Linked DNA regions of Homo sapiens: regions 2 and 3 are each linked to region 1. The links are contacts of gene promoters, found by promoter capture Hi-C in blood cells and fetal thymus (Javierre and others, 2016). All regions are on one chromosome and are shown on one strand. The core of a region is centred on a gene start or on the middle of the fragment in contact, and the rest is flanking DNA. Distances in the headings are between cores, read along the strand shown. Region 1 holds the start of RPS23 (ribosomal protein S23). Region 2 holds the start of CCNH (cyclin H). Region 3 holds the start of TMEM161B (transmembrane protein 161B).

Evidence for each region. Contacts are between HindIII fragments. The CHiCAGO score rates a contact against its expected background, and 5 or more counts as called.
Region 2: a contact is called between the fragment with the promoter of CCNH here and the fragment with the promoter of RPS23 in region 1, in 1 of 17 cell types (naive CD8 T cells). The highest score is 7.9, in naive CD8 T cells.
Region 3: a contact is called between the fragment with the promoter of TMEM161B here and the fragment with the promoter of RPS23 in region 1, in 2 of 17 cell types (total CD4 T cells and total CD8 T cells). The highest score is 6.8, in total CD4 T cells.

The regions. Positions count from the first base shown.
Region 1 is chr5:82,276,952-82,280,719 of GRCh38, reverse strand. It overlaps RPS23 (ribosomal protein S23), which reads left to right and starts at 2,366. Exons shown (of 4, transcript NM_001025.5): 1 at 2,366-2,400; 2 at 2,868-3,027. The coding sequence starts at 2,397. It also overlaps the pseudogene ATP6AP1L. RefSeq lists an enhancer at 2,046-2,375. The HindIII fragment of the contact is 8,285 bases long and covers 1,865-3,768 here.
Region 2 is chr5:87,411,621-87,415,532 of GRCh38, reverse strand. It overlaps CCNH (cyclin H), which reads left to right and starts at 2,603. Exons shown (of 9, transcript NM_001239.4): 1 at 2,603-2,855. The coding sequence starts at 2,739. It overlaps LOC105379066 (a long non-coding RNA gene), which reads right to left and starts at 2,551. Exons shown (of 3, transcript XR_948543.1): 1 at 2,472-2,551. RefSeq lists enhancers at 2,647-2,816, 2,847-2,976. The HindIII fragment of the contact is 6,680 bases long and covers 1-3,842 here.
Region 3 is chr5:88,266,059-88,270,108 of GRCh38, reverse strand. TMEM161B (transmembrane protein 161B) reads left to right here and starts at 1,264. Exons shown (of 12, transcript NM_153354.5): 1 at 1,264-1,388. The coding sequence starts at 1,386. TMEM161B-DT (TMEM161B divergent transcript) reads right to left here and starts at 1,227. Exons shown (of 3, transcript NR_039995.1): 1 at 1,082-1,227. RefSeq lists enhancers at 1,098-1,287, 978-1,477. The HindIII fragment of the contact is 4,710 bases long and covers 190-4,050 here.

The DNA.
Region 1 (3,768 bases), core at 1,117-3,616:
ATCAGCATACAAAAATGTCATAAAAGTTGCCATCTTAAAAATAAAACCCTCCAACTCCACATTCCCCTCCAAATAGGGTGCCATTTCTCTGCACATAAAAAATGTCTTTCAAAAATTGTCTATAGTTGCTGTCTAGACTTCCTTCCCTCCCATATTCTCTTCACTCCGATCCCATCGCCTTTCACTTTCAGTACTCCATGGAGTCCCCATTTGACAAAGTGACCAGTAATCTCCACATTTTCAAGTCCAAAAGGCAATTCTCAGTCCTCATCTTATCTCTTTTCACACTTTCTCACTCCCTTCTTCACTTGGCTTTGAACAGAGTGTAACATTGGCCACTCTTTCTTCATCTGTTTTGCTTCACCTGCCTTCTCTTCTGTACCACTAAACTTTGGTGTGCTCAGGACTCTAATCTCTGTTCTACCTACAGTCATCACCTAAGCTATCTCAACTAGAGCCACAGTTTTAATACTATTTATTCATTGATTACTCCTCAGCTTCTTATCATATATCCAACTGTCCACTTCACATCCCTGGATGTTTGACAGTTCAAACTTAACACATCCAAACCAGAACTCTTCATTTCCTCCTTTGAAATTTGCTCCTCTCCTCGTATTTCCCACTTTGGAACTCACCCAACTCACAACTCACAACTCTACAACTCACCCAAGTGCTGAGGTCAAAAATCATAGTGCTGTAATTAACTCCTCTCTCACATCCTACAGTCCTGAGCAAATTCTGTTCATTCTACCACCAAACAGTGTATCTGACCCAACCACTTTTTACTGTCTCCACTGAGGGTCCAAGCTATCACCATCTCTCATCTGAACTATTGCAATACCTTCCCAAGTGGCCTCCCAGATTCATGTCTTTTTCTCCTCTCAACAGCCAGAGTAACCCCATAAAAATATAAATCTTATTTTGCTACCTACTCCCAAGCTCAAAACTTTACAATGGCTTTAAATCACCAGAAGAGTAGAAAAAGGCTTTACCATGGCCTACAGGCTCCACATGTTCCTGTGTAACTCTCAGACCCCATCTAATGCCACACTACTCCTCAGTCACTATGCTCCCCTTCTTCACTGATCTTTCAGTTCTTAGAAAGCACTAGCCCATTCTACATCTGCACAGAGATGTCACCTTAAACTACCCTATCCAGAGTAGCCACCCCCATCCCCAAGTCACTATCACCCATCCAGCTATATTTTCTCTATAGCTCTACAGTATGTAAAAATCATCTATTTAATTATTTAATTTACATCTATCTAACTGGTCTGTCCTCTCACATTTAGAATATAAACTGTATCAGAGCAGAAACCTTCACCCTCTTAATTTAACCGCCATATTCCCGGTACCTACAACAGCGTCTGGCACATAGAAGGCATTTTTAAACATCCTTGCTGAGTGAACCAATATCCCAGAAACCTCTCACAGCTAGTTCATCTTACAGGAGAAACAGTATTAAAGAGTTAATTAAATGGCCAGGCGCGGTGGCTCACGCCTGTAATCCCAGCACATTGGGAGGCCGAGGCGGGCGGATCACTCGAGGTCAGGAGATCGACACCAGCCTGGCCAACATGGTGAAACCCCCTCTCTACTGAAAATACAAACATCAGCCAGGCGTGATGGTGGAAGCCTGTAATCCCAGCTACTCAGGAGGCTGAGGTGGGACAATCGCTTGAACCCGGGAGGCGGAGGTTGTAGTGAGCCAAGATCGCACCACTGCACAACAGCCTAGAAGACAGAGTGAGACCCTGTCTCAGAAAAAAATAAAAATAAAAATAAATAAATCTATAAGTAAATGACTCGCCAGTCAAAATAAACGGCAACTTTAGGGTTAAAGGCCCAATCTGGCTCCAAAGCTTGGGGTTTTAGTTACTACACTACATTGCTTCACTATATTTTACAATTTACTAGCTGCTTATAAGTATGAATTAAGGCTCAGAAGTCTAATTTTCCAGACTACTCGGAGGACTCTCGCCCCACTCCACTCCACAAAGATTCAGCTCAGCGACTCCTTCCTACTCTGACCTAGCCCCGCGTCCCGCTCTCAGTGGCTTGGGCAAGAGCGCCTGCGCGGTGAGCGGGTCCCATAAAACGCATTCTGGGATTGGTAGTCCATGTTCCTCCGGTCTCCAGCATTCAAAAGAAAAAGGGGGAAAAAAAACCATGCAAATTAGATATCTCTGAATTTCTTGCAAATTAAATAAGACGCAGATTCTGGCTCAGGAAAGTGATGCAAACGCGTCGTTTTCAAAGGAGAGACCCCAGCCTCGGGTCAGGCGCGGCGCAGACAGCGGCGCGGGGTCCTTGGCTGGGCGGGGCTTGCTCGCGGTGGCTTGTGGCTCCTTCCTGCGGTGCTTCTCTCTTTCGCTCAGGCCCGTGGCGCCGACAGGATGGGTGAGCTGTTGTGGCCGGTTTAAGGGCGCTGCAAGCGGGACTTGGGGTCTTGGGGACGGGCGGGCGGATGCGAATAGAGTAGGGCGGGGGATGCCATGGAGAGGCTCCATGGGGGAGGGCCGGGGAAGCGCCGCTCCAGGAGGCACGTGGTCCGGCGCGGAAGGGGCCCATGAGGCGTGGAGGCCGCCGAGGTCGGGGTACCGAGGGACGCAGGGAGGCCAGCGCTTCCTCCCGGGCATTCGAGCGGGGCCTCGTCCTTCGGGAGAACACATTCTCCGGAGCCCTCTTCGAACGTTTATTAGTCGGTTCAGGGCAACTTGAAGGCCAAATGTTTGGCCCACAGGCCAATAAATAGTACGAGAGCCAATCGGCTTAAGGGTTTATTCCAGGTGAGGCGAGTGTCTTAGAAGATGGGAAACACGTAGATGGCGTGTTTTTACGGAAGAACTAAAATATTTAATTTTTAGGCAAGTGTCGTGGACTTCGTACTGCTAGGAAGCTCCGTAGTCACCGACGAGACCAGAAGTGGCATGATAAACAGTATAAGAAAGCTCATTTGGGCACAGCCCTAAAGGCCAACCCTTTTGGAGGTGCTTCTCATGCAAAAGGAATCGTGCTGGAAAAAGTGTAAGTCCATTGCTCCCGTCAAGTTTTAGTTTATTATAGGAATTCGAGACATGAACTTACGAATTCTTGTTTTGAAAGTAATTGCAGGTTTTTGTGTAGTAGTATTCATTTGGGCATTGTGGGGTAAAATTGCAAAGCGTTTGTTCTATTTAAAAGTTGGTAAAATTAGTTTTTGGGAATTAGGTAGTTAAGGTTTTAATTTAACGTTGGCCTGGAAGGAATTGGAGAAGATACTAGCAATGATGAAGTAAAGGACACAAACACCTTTACTGTGGGAGTTGTTATAAGTAAATGGCACGTGTCAGCTATTGAACTTTATCGACTTGATAAAACTAAGGTGAAGAGAAGTGACTTGCATCAGAATTAATTGAGGTCATACACCTAAGATTGAGACATGAAACTGCCAGTATTTGACTGGTTTTGACTTTTTAAAATAATAATTTCATATAGTTCTATCATATTTGATGGTAGAGCCATTTTAACCCAGACTTTTTTTTTTTTTTTTTTTTTTTTTGAGACAGTCTAGCTCTGTCACCCAGGCTGGTGTGCAGTAGCGCAAGACTCCCTGCAACCTTAGCCTCCCAGGTTCAAGCATTTCTCCTGCCTCAGCCTCCCAGGTAGCTGGGATTACAGGCGCCCACTACCACACCAGCTAATATTTTGTATTTTCAGTAGTGATGGGGTTTCACCATGTTGACCAGGCTAGTCTCAAACTCCTGACCTCAGGTGATAATGCCTGCT
Region 2 (3,912 bases), core at 1,354-3,853, 5.1 Mb before region 1:
TAACCCTTAGTTTACAGGTAATGCCTGCAAGTCAAAATATTTGGAATTTGTCTACAAGTACATACCATAGCACAATTTAACAACTGCAGCACAATAAAAGAGATTGTATTTACTTTTAAAAGTCATTGAAATATTTCTTAACATTTCACTTCTGAGTAGTGTCTAATGAAATAGTGATATCTTTGTCAACAAGCTGTGAATTTCCCTATGTCTTCTAGGAAGAATAGGTTCTGTCTGGTTAGTTGGTTTGTTCTTGTTTGAAATATCTTCATTTAGTAGCAGGGACATTGTGATTTAAAACTAATGGAGTTGGGAGGCCCAGGCAGGCGGATCACTTGAGGCCACAAGTTCTAGACCAGCCTGGCCAACATGGTGAAACCCCATCTCTACTAAAAATACAAAAATTAGCTGGGCATGGTGGCATGAGCCTGTAGTCCCAGCTACTCAGGAGGCTGAGGCTGGAGAATGGCTTTAACCCAGGAGGCGGAGGTTGCAGTGAGCGAAGATTGTGCCACTGCACTCCAGTCTGGGTGACAGAGCAAGACTTTGTCTCAAAAAAGAAGAAGAAGAAGAAGAAAAAAACCTAATGGAGGTGTGGGTGGAGGGTAGAAGGGAACTGGCCATGTATTGATAATTTTTGAAATATGTTTCTCTGTATTCTTTATATTTGAAATTCTCCATAAATAAATAAGTAAAAATAATAGAAGTGAAGAGAAACACTTGCTACTTTTTAGTTGAAACTAGAAATGGAAATAGGTAAAGGCACAAGTTCTGCATTCCAGTGTGCCTCCTGTGGTAGCAATAGCAAAGAAACACTGTCGCACAACAGGCTGAGTAGGAGACTGTCACAGCATCCAGTCTGCTTACCTTAGTAAGAAAAACCATACATGAGCCTTAATGTTAGGGCATCAGCAACAATTGTATTCCTCAGACAGTTAATTTAGACAGAGCCCAATTCCTACTACATCTGAAAAATAAGATCAATGTCAATTTTCATGGACTAAAATTTGTTCAAGGTTTAAAAAAAATTACACCAGCAATGCCAGGTTTTTCATATATTTTTCCTAAATGACATTCAGAAATTTTACTCATATCTCTGTGGAAATCACAGTCTGCCAACTCTTTTAAATGCCTATTTTTATTATCCTTTACATAAAACTAAGGAGTTGTCAAATATCTTTCAGAAAAACAAAATGAAAAGAATTTATATGATATATATAACAGTCATGAGGCTAAGACTTTATATAGACATTTAATTATCTAGATCACTTATTTTCCTATCTTTTGTACCATTATGTTTTTCTCTTTTAAATTATTCTTTCCCCAACATGCAACATTTTAGGTTGTTCACAATTCATTGTAATCAATTTGCCATGCCCTTTGATCTTCTCTTTTTCTCTCTTTTCTTAGCCAATTTATGAGACCAGGTTAGCCACATATGTTGAGTGTGTGGCTCTCCAAAATTATATACCACAAATGGCATAAGTTTGAGGAATTCAGATAACTGTGGCAAACTCTAACCTCAGCTGTACCCAACAAAAATGAAAAAGAAAAGGCTTTCCCTTTCTTAAGCCCCTAAAAACATTTTAATAGAAAGCAGAGTTAAAGTCATCCTGCCACTTCTTCTTTTTACCTGTGTGGGCTTTTCAAGACCTAAATTCTCTAGGTCTCATCATCTTTCTCTTTCTTTTTATTTATTTATTTATTTTTTAGAAAAGCTATTTGCCATAGGGAAATCCATTTTTCGGATTGGATATATAATAAATACATGAGAGAATAAGGTATGCCTAAATGGGACAAACCAGAATCCATGTAAATTTTGAACCTCACCTGCAATTTTGAAAGTCCTATTAATTTAAAAAATAGTAAATACCTTAATTTTCATGATAGCTTACTGTAAGGCTCCCTAGAGGCAATGAAAATGGGAATCTCAATAAAACGAATACTACCATACATCCTGGCTTCAGAGATGAAAACAGAGGGAGAGGATTGGCTAGTTATCAACAGAAGGGTAAGGAAAAAAAGCACAGAGAAAGAACAGACAAGGCAACAAAAGTGGCAGAACTGTAAGGGCCAATACGCATCCACTGCTTCAAGTTTTTCAGCCATGTTCCATTCTCCGAGATTTCTGGTAGTGCTTCAAGAATACTGGTCTCCAAACTCTTCCTGAAAAGGGCTAGGAATGCTTCTGCCTGAAGATCTTACCTATTCTTTCTGGGCCCCGTGATCTCCCTACATGATTGATCAACCTACTATTTCAACTCTTTCAAGCCTTTTCACAAATGTCAACTTCAGTGAGGCCTCTATTTAAAAATGAGCACCCTACGAAATCCTTTCCTCATTTCTGATTATCCCCTGTGAATTTACATCTGCCTACTCCGTACCCTCAGTTTATGCCCCTTGAACACTCTTGCCGGGCGCTTCTCCTTTAAATCTTGCCTGGAAGGGGCGGAGCTATGTCCCAGACTCACCGAGAGGAGCGTTCTCTAGGCTCCGCCCACTTACGTCTCAGTGGGCGCCCTAACGAACCCGGGATACGGTCTGTTCCTAGTCCGCTCCGGAAATGCAACTGCGTACGGGCTGGCCGCGTAATCGTGACGACAGCGCGCCAGCGCCGGCTAGCCGGACGCCCTAGGCTTCCGCGAGATCTTCGGTGGGGGTACGGGTGTTTTACGCCAGGACGCTGATGCGTTTGGGTTCTCGTCTGCAGACCCTCTGGACCTGGTCACGATTCCATAATGTACCACAACAGTAGTCAGAAGCGGCACTGGACCTTCTCCAGCGAGGAGCAGCTGGCAAGACTGCGGGCTGACGCCAACCGCAAATTCAGATGCAAAGCCGTGGCCAACGGGAAGGTGAGGTTTTCCCAACGGTTGCCCAGTTGCCCGGTCACTAAATTCTGAGCAGCTGCGGGAGCTCTTCTGGCTCCCAGGACAATCTCGCTCCGTCGTTTCTCTGCCTCTGCGGCGCGGAGTGCGTTTTTCTATCAAAATAAGCGAGCACCTTGCCAGGTTCCGTGGGTACAAAGACGAACAACGCCATCCCCGTCGTCGAATGGCAGACAAGTAACCAGTCTTTGTAACGTAGTGAAGAAGAGAGTAAGTAGTGTGCTAAGGTAGTGCGTGGCAAGAGCCGTTCACTTGTCAAGAGATGATGTTGGGGAAGGTTTTTCCCAGTAGCCAATGCGGAGAAAATGGGAAAGGAAGTTCCAGGCAGTCAGAACCACCGTTCAGAGTGGGAGGGAGGTCAGAAGTTACAGAGATGGTGCGTGGACGTGTTTGTGGTCGTATGTGGCCGAAGTTGAGTACCTGTGCAGGAATGGCTGGGGAGGGTAGGAAGGGAACTTGTAAGTGGAAGTGAGGCGTTTAACATTTCCACTGAAAGGATGAGGAACCTTTGAAATATTTAAAATGGGAAGCTAACCTTATCAGATTTCCGTTCTGGAAACAGCGCTCTAGCAACCTCGTGGTGAATGGGTTGGATGAGGGAGGGAGACCAGAGACCAAGTACAAACCAAGTGACTGAAGATGGTTTGGACTATGGCCCGCTAGCCAAGTTCCTTCTGTTACAGCTCTCGGACTGGTTTAATCTTTCCTGCAAGCTCCACTCCAGCAAGTGTTCAGTGCCTCCAAATTACCGATACTGAGTTACTTTACTTTCTACCTTTAATTCACATCTATTTCATATCACTGATTTTAGCACCTGAATTAGTTTCCTAAGGGCTGCCTTAAAAAAATCACCACAAACTGGGTAGCTTAAAATAACAGAAATTTATTGAAACATTTGCTGTTTTTTTACAACTTGTGACGTAATGACTGACCGAGAAACGGATGTTGGAAGCTTTCCAATCATATTTTAAAAAGTCTGTCTACTTTTTAATTTATAAATAATGATATCACAACTGTGAGCATG
Region 3 (4,050 bases), core at 15-2,514, 6.0 Mb before region 1:
AATCAAATAAAAAGGCAGAAAAAGTTGAATGGAATAGAGTTTGGAAAAAACACAAAATTAAAAGTTGTATGAGAGTTTCACTTATTTGCATCTGATATAAATATCTATACATCTATAGAAAAAAAAAACCCTCATACACTCAGTCTGTGTCCCTTTTCCTGACATAAAGCAACTGGCCCTGTGCAAGCTTCTTTGGGATGGCTGAGAACCCCGATATATCGATATATTTATAGATAGACGTCTACATATCTATCCAAATATCTATATCTATCCATATATCTACCTATCTATCTATCTATATATATATCTATATCTATCGATCGATATCTATCTATATCTATCTATCTAGACTTCCCTGGTGAGGGAGTGAACCGCTGCCTGACGGGGGCCAAGACTGGCAGAGCAGAGACGCGGTTTGTACATGAGGGGAGGTGGTGGCCAGAGCAAAAGTGAACCGCAGGCTAGGCAAAGACCACAGCACACAGCCATACAGGTGTCCAGGACCGTCAGATCCCAGAGCATCTATCTATATAGATAGGTATCTATATGGAAAACGTCCATATTGGAACGTATTAAAGAGGCAGAATTTTCTTCCTGGGTTCTCTGCTCTTGGTAGATGTTCTTCCGGCTTCAATTGCCACCTGTGAATAGTGAAGAAACTTCTCACTATGAGATTCCATTGCCCGGAAGGAGGGTAGAGCTACGGTACCCACTAAGGCAGGGAACAGAAGCAACAGACGGACAGGTCTGTGGAAATGAGGATATGCTAATAAGGGACCGAGTCAGGAAAACTAGAGGGTAACAAGAGGGCGTCAGTTAAGCTGAGACAAAATGACGGCCAAAGGTGGTCTTTACTCTCTCTAAATCACCTGGGTCTGGAGTCGACTCCCATCGCGCACCCTCACTCCCACCCCTGGCCCCCTCCCGCCCCCCACCCGCCCCCCTCCCTCTCCCCTCCCGCTCCCCACACCAACGTGTGCCTCCGTCACCTCTCAGACAGTGGATGCGTTCCTGTTGAAACCACCCAATCTACCTCAGGGTCCTCGCAAGCGCAGCCACCACGATCCGCCCGCCCACGTACCTGTGCTGCGCCTGCGCCTCCTCCGCTCTCTCAAGGTCAGCACCGCCCCCAGCCCACAACCTGGCACCCACGGAAGTTGCTTTAGAGGACGTCCTGCGTATCTTCACCTCTGCGTGGCGTGGGGTCGACGGCGCTCTGGAGAAGGGAGGAACTTCCTGTCCCGCGCGCGCACAACTTCCGGCAGAGCCGGAAGACCCTCTCTTTCGCTGTTTGAGAGTCTCTCGGCTCAAGGACCGGGAGGTAAGAGGTTTGGGACTGCCCCGGCAACTCCAGGGTGTCTGGTCCACGACCTATCCTAGGCGCCATGGTGAGTTCTTCTGTGAGGGCAGGAGTGACAACGGTGGGGCGAAAAGGGCGGGGAGGTCAGTACTGTGAAAAGAGCCATCAGGTGCTCTGCTCAGAATGGAGTTGAGACGTTGGGATGAGCTGCTGGGTAGGACCCACCACCTATCTCAGGGTGTCTGAGCCCCTGAGGAAGCAGCATTACGCCTACCTGTCTGGGAGACTAGCGGGCCGGAGGCAGGGGCGTATCTGTCAGGGAGTATGGACTGGGTAGCCTGCCTGTTCATGGCCCATTTACTGTGTATGGCCTGTGGCGCCAGGTGATCCCAGAGTTGACCTTGCCGGGTCAGTCACCTCTTCTGCGCCCCCTTCTCCATCCGCGGAACAGTGGCCAAGAACTTCAGATCTTAGAAATGCTTTTAGCCTCTCCAGGTGGACACAACGGGTCTCCTTGTATAAGATCAACACCTGTCATTTAAAGAAACGGTAGTCCCCTTATTCTTTACACTTAGCCATTTCATAATTGAAAAGGGTGTCAAATAAAAAACCCGAGTTTAGTAAGGACAGACTTTATTCGAAAGGAATATTGCAGGGGTGTGGAGGAAGGTTGAAGGAACTGTTGCAGTAGGGAGAATGACCGTAAGATTTGCATGCACCTTAAAGGTTAGGCAGAAAGGGTTTGTCTTTTGTTGGTAGGGGTAAATAAGATGTCAGGAATTGGGATGAAAATATGGGTATGATCCGGCAGTAACCAGATAATGTTTTACCCTGAGCCCATGTATTCTGAGGAGGAGCTGTTAGGAGAGGTTTGTATATGTTGTTTCAGACTGAGGGAAGGACAAAATTCAGGTACCCGAGAGAAGAGAATCTTAAAGTTTGGTTAATAAGTATTTTGTTCCGATTGATCTGTGGGACAGGTACTTCAGCAAGTCATTTACGAAGCAAAGGATGGGAATTAGAAGGGTCTAGTTATGGCCTTGTTATAGGTAAACAAGGGGTAGGGGGGTATGGATCAACCCTTAGTCTTATCTAAGTTCTACAGGAAAGATGATTCTTTGCAGTAAGCCAATTTCTCAGAACACAAACGGGGGCAAGGGGTTTCTTAACCTTTGCTGTTTTTCAAGATCACGGGGCTCTGGTGAAGTTCATTATTGTCAGTTTCTTCACCGTATACAAGATTTCAAACCCTCACTTGCAGAGGCTTCTGTCCTGGAATTTAGCTTCAGTTTGTCTTATATTTTCAGGGCCAAATATTGCCAACATTCAGTTAATGTGTGTGGTGATTGGCTTTTGAATGACTTTTAGAAACTTAGCTGAATGTAGAACAAAGACCTTCAAAATAATGTAGTTCCTGGTGCACTTTACCAGATAACCTATCTCTTTAAAGTTTTTTTTTTTAAGCCTCAGTGAATAATATGGTTTGTATTAAGAAAGTTGTTTTTCTTTTGTATCAGTGAAATTAGACAAGGATAGGGAAAACAGAACTGGGAGAAACCAAAGCCTAGTAATCACTCTTCCATCCCCATTTTTACAGAAGAAAGAATCTGGGGTCTAGAAATTGACAGTGATTTTTCTAAAGTAACAGTAGTTTGGCAGTCTGGACTAAAACTCATATTTTCATTTTTTAAATTTAAGATTAATTTTTGACTTTTTGGTCTGAAAAGTTGAAGGTAAAGTATAATTAAAATACTTAAGTTCATCATAGTCACAGAAAAGCTGAACATGAACTTGTTCTCAGTGTTTTGGAATACTAGAAGTAGAATCCTGCTTATCCTGTCGGTTCAAAAGAGATGGTTAATGTTTGGAACTAATGTAATCTTATGCTGTTTTTCTGAATGTCATTTTGGAACTAACTAGTTGGCTCTTTTCCTTCTGGAAGTGCTTATATTTCTGAGCTAATTATCTTGGCTGAGTTTTATCTTTCCCAGCTATGAAATTGATAATGTCTGTATATGCAAGTGTGGTTAATGCTTGGAATTTTTCAAAGGGAAGAGTTTAACCATTAAATGAAGTGAACATGGGCTGAATTTATTGAGGATTCAGCTTGTTGAAATCAGAACTTGTTTTGCATTGCTGGGGCCTAATGATATTATGAAAAGAACATTAGTATTGACCCCAGAGGACCCAGATTCTGCCCATTGTTAGTTATATGGATTTGGAAAAGTCACTCAATTTTGATAAGAGTTCCAAATTCCTCCTGGGTAAGAGAAGTGGGACTTGATGGGTATTAAAGCACCTTCTTAAATTTATGATTCCATGACTACTCAACATTTTTGAGGATAGTTACATGTTTCAGATTAAATAAAAGTTAGTCTGATTTCCACTGTTTTGTTTCCATGCCATTTTGGCTTAAGTTTGATTTCTTTTATCATTCTCTTTTTCATTTTTTTCATAAGTCACATAGATAGTACTTGGAATCTTTGTATATTTGGCCAAGTCTTTCACTACTGTCTTAAATACTGCTCCAGAATGGAACACAACTCTTGGAATGTTTTGATTTAATTCTTGTTTTAATCAATGATAAACTAATTCTGTGCTCTCATTCTCTCATACATTATGTATACCGATACTCAATAGATACCTGTGCCTATAACAAGGTTTTTGTATTATGAATGAAGGAGAATAGGATTATGATCCAGACTGAAAATACTGAACTCACGCTTAATTTTTATGCTTTCAAGTTGTTG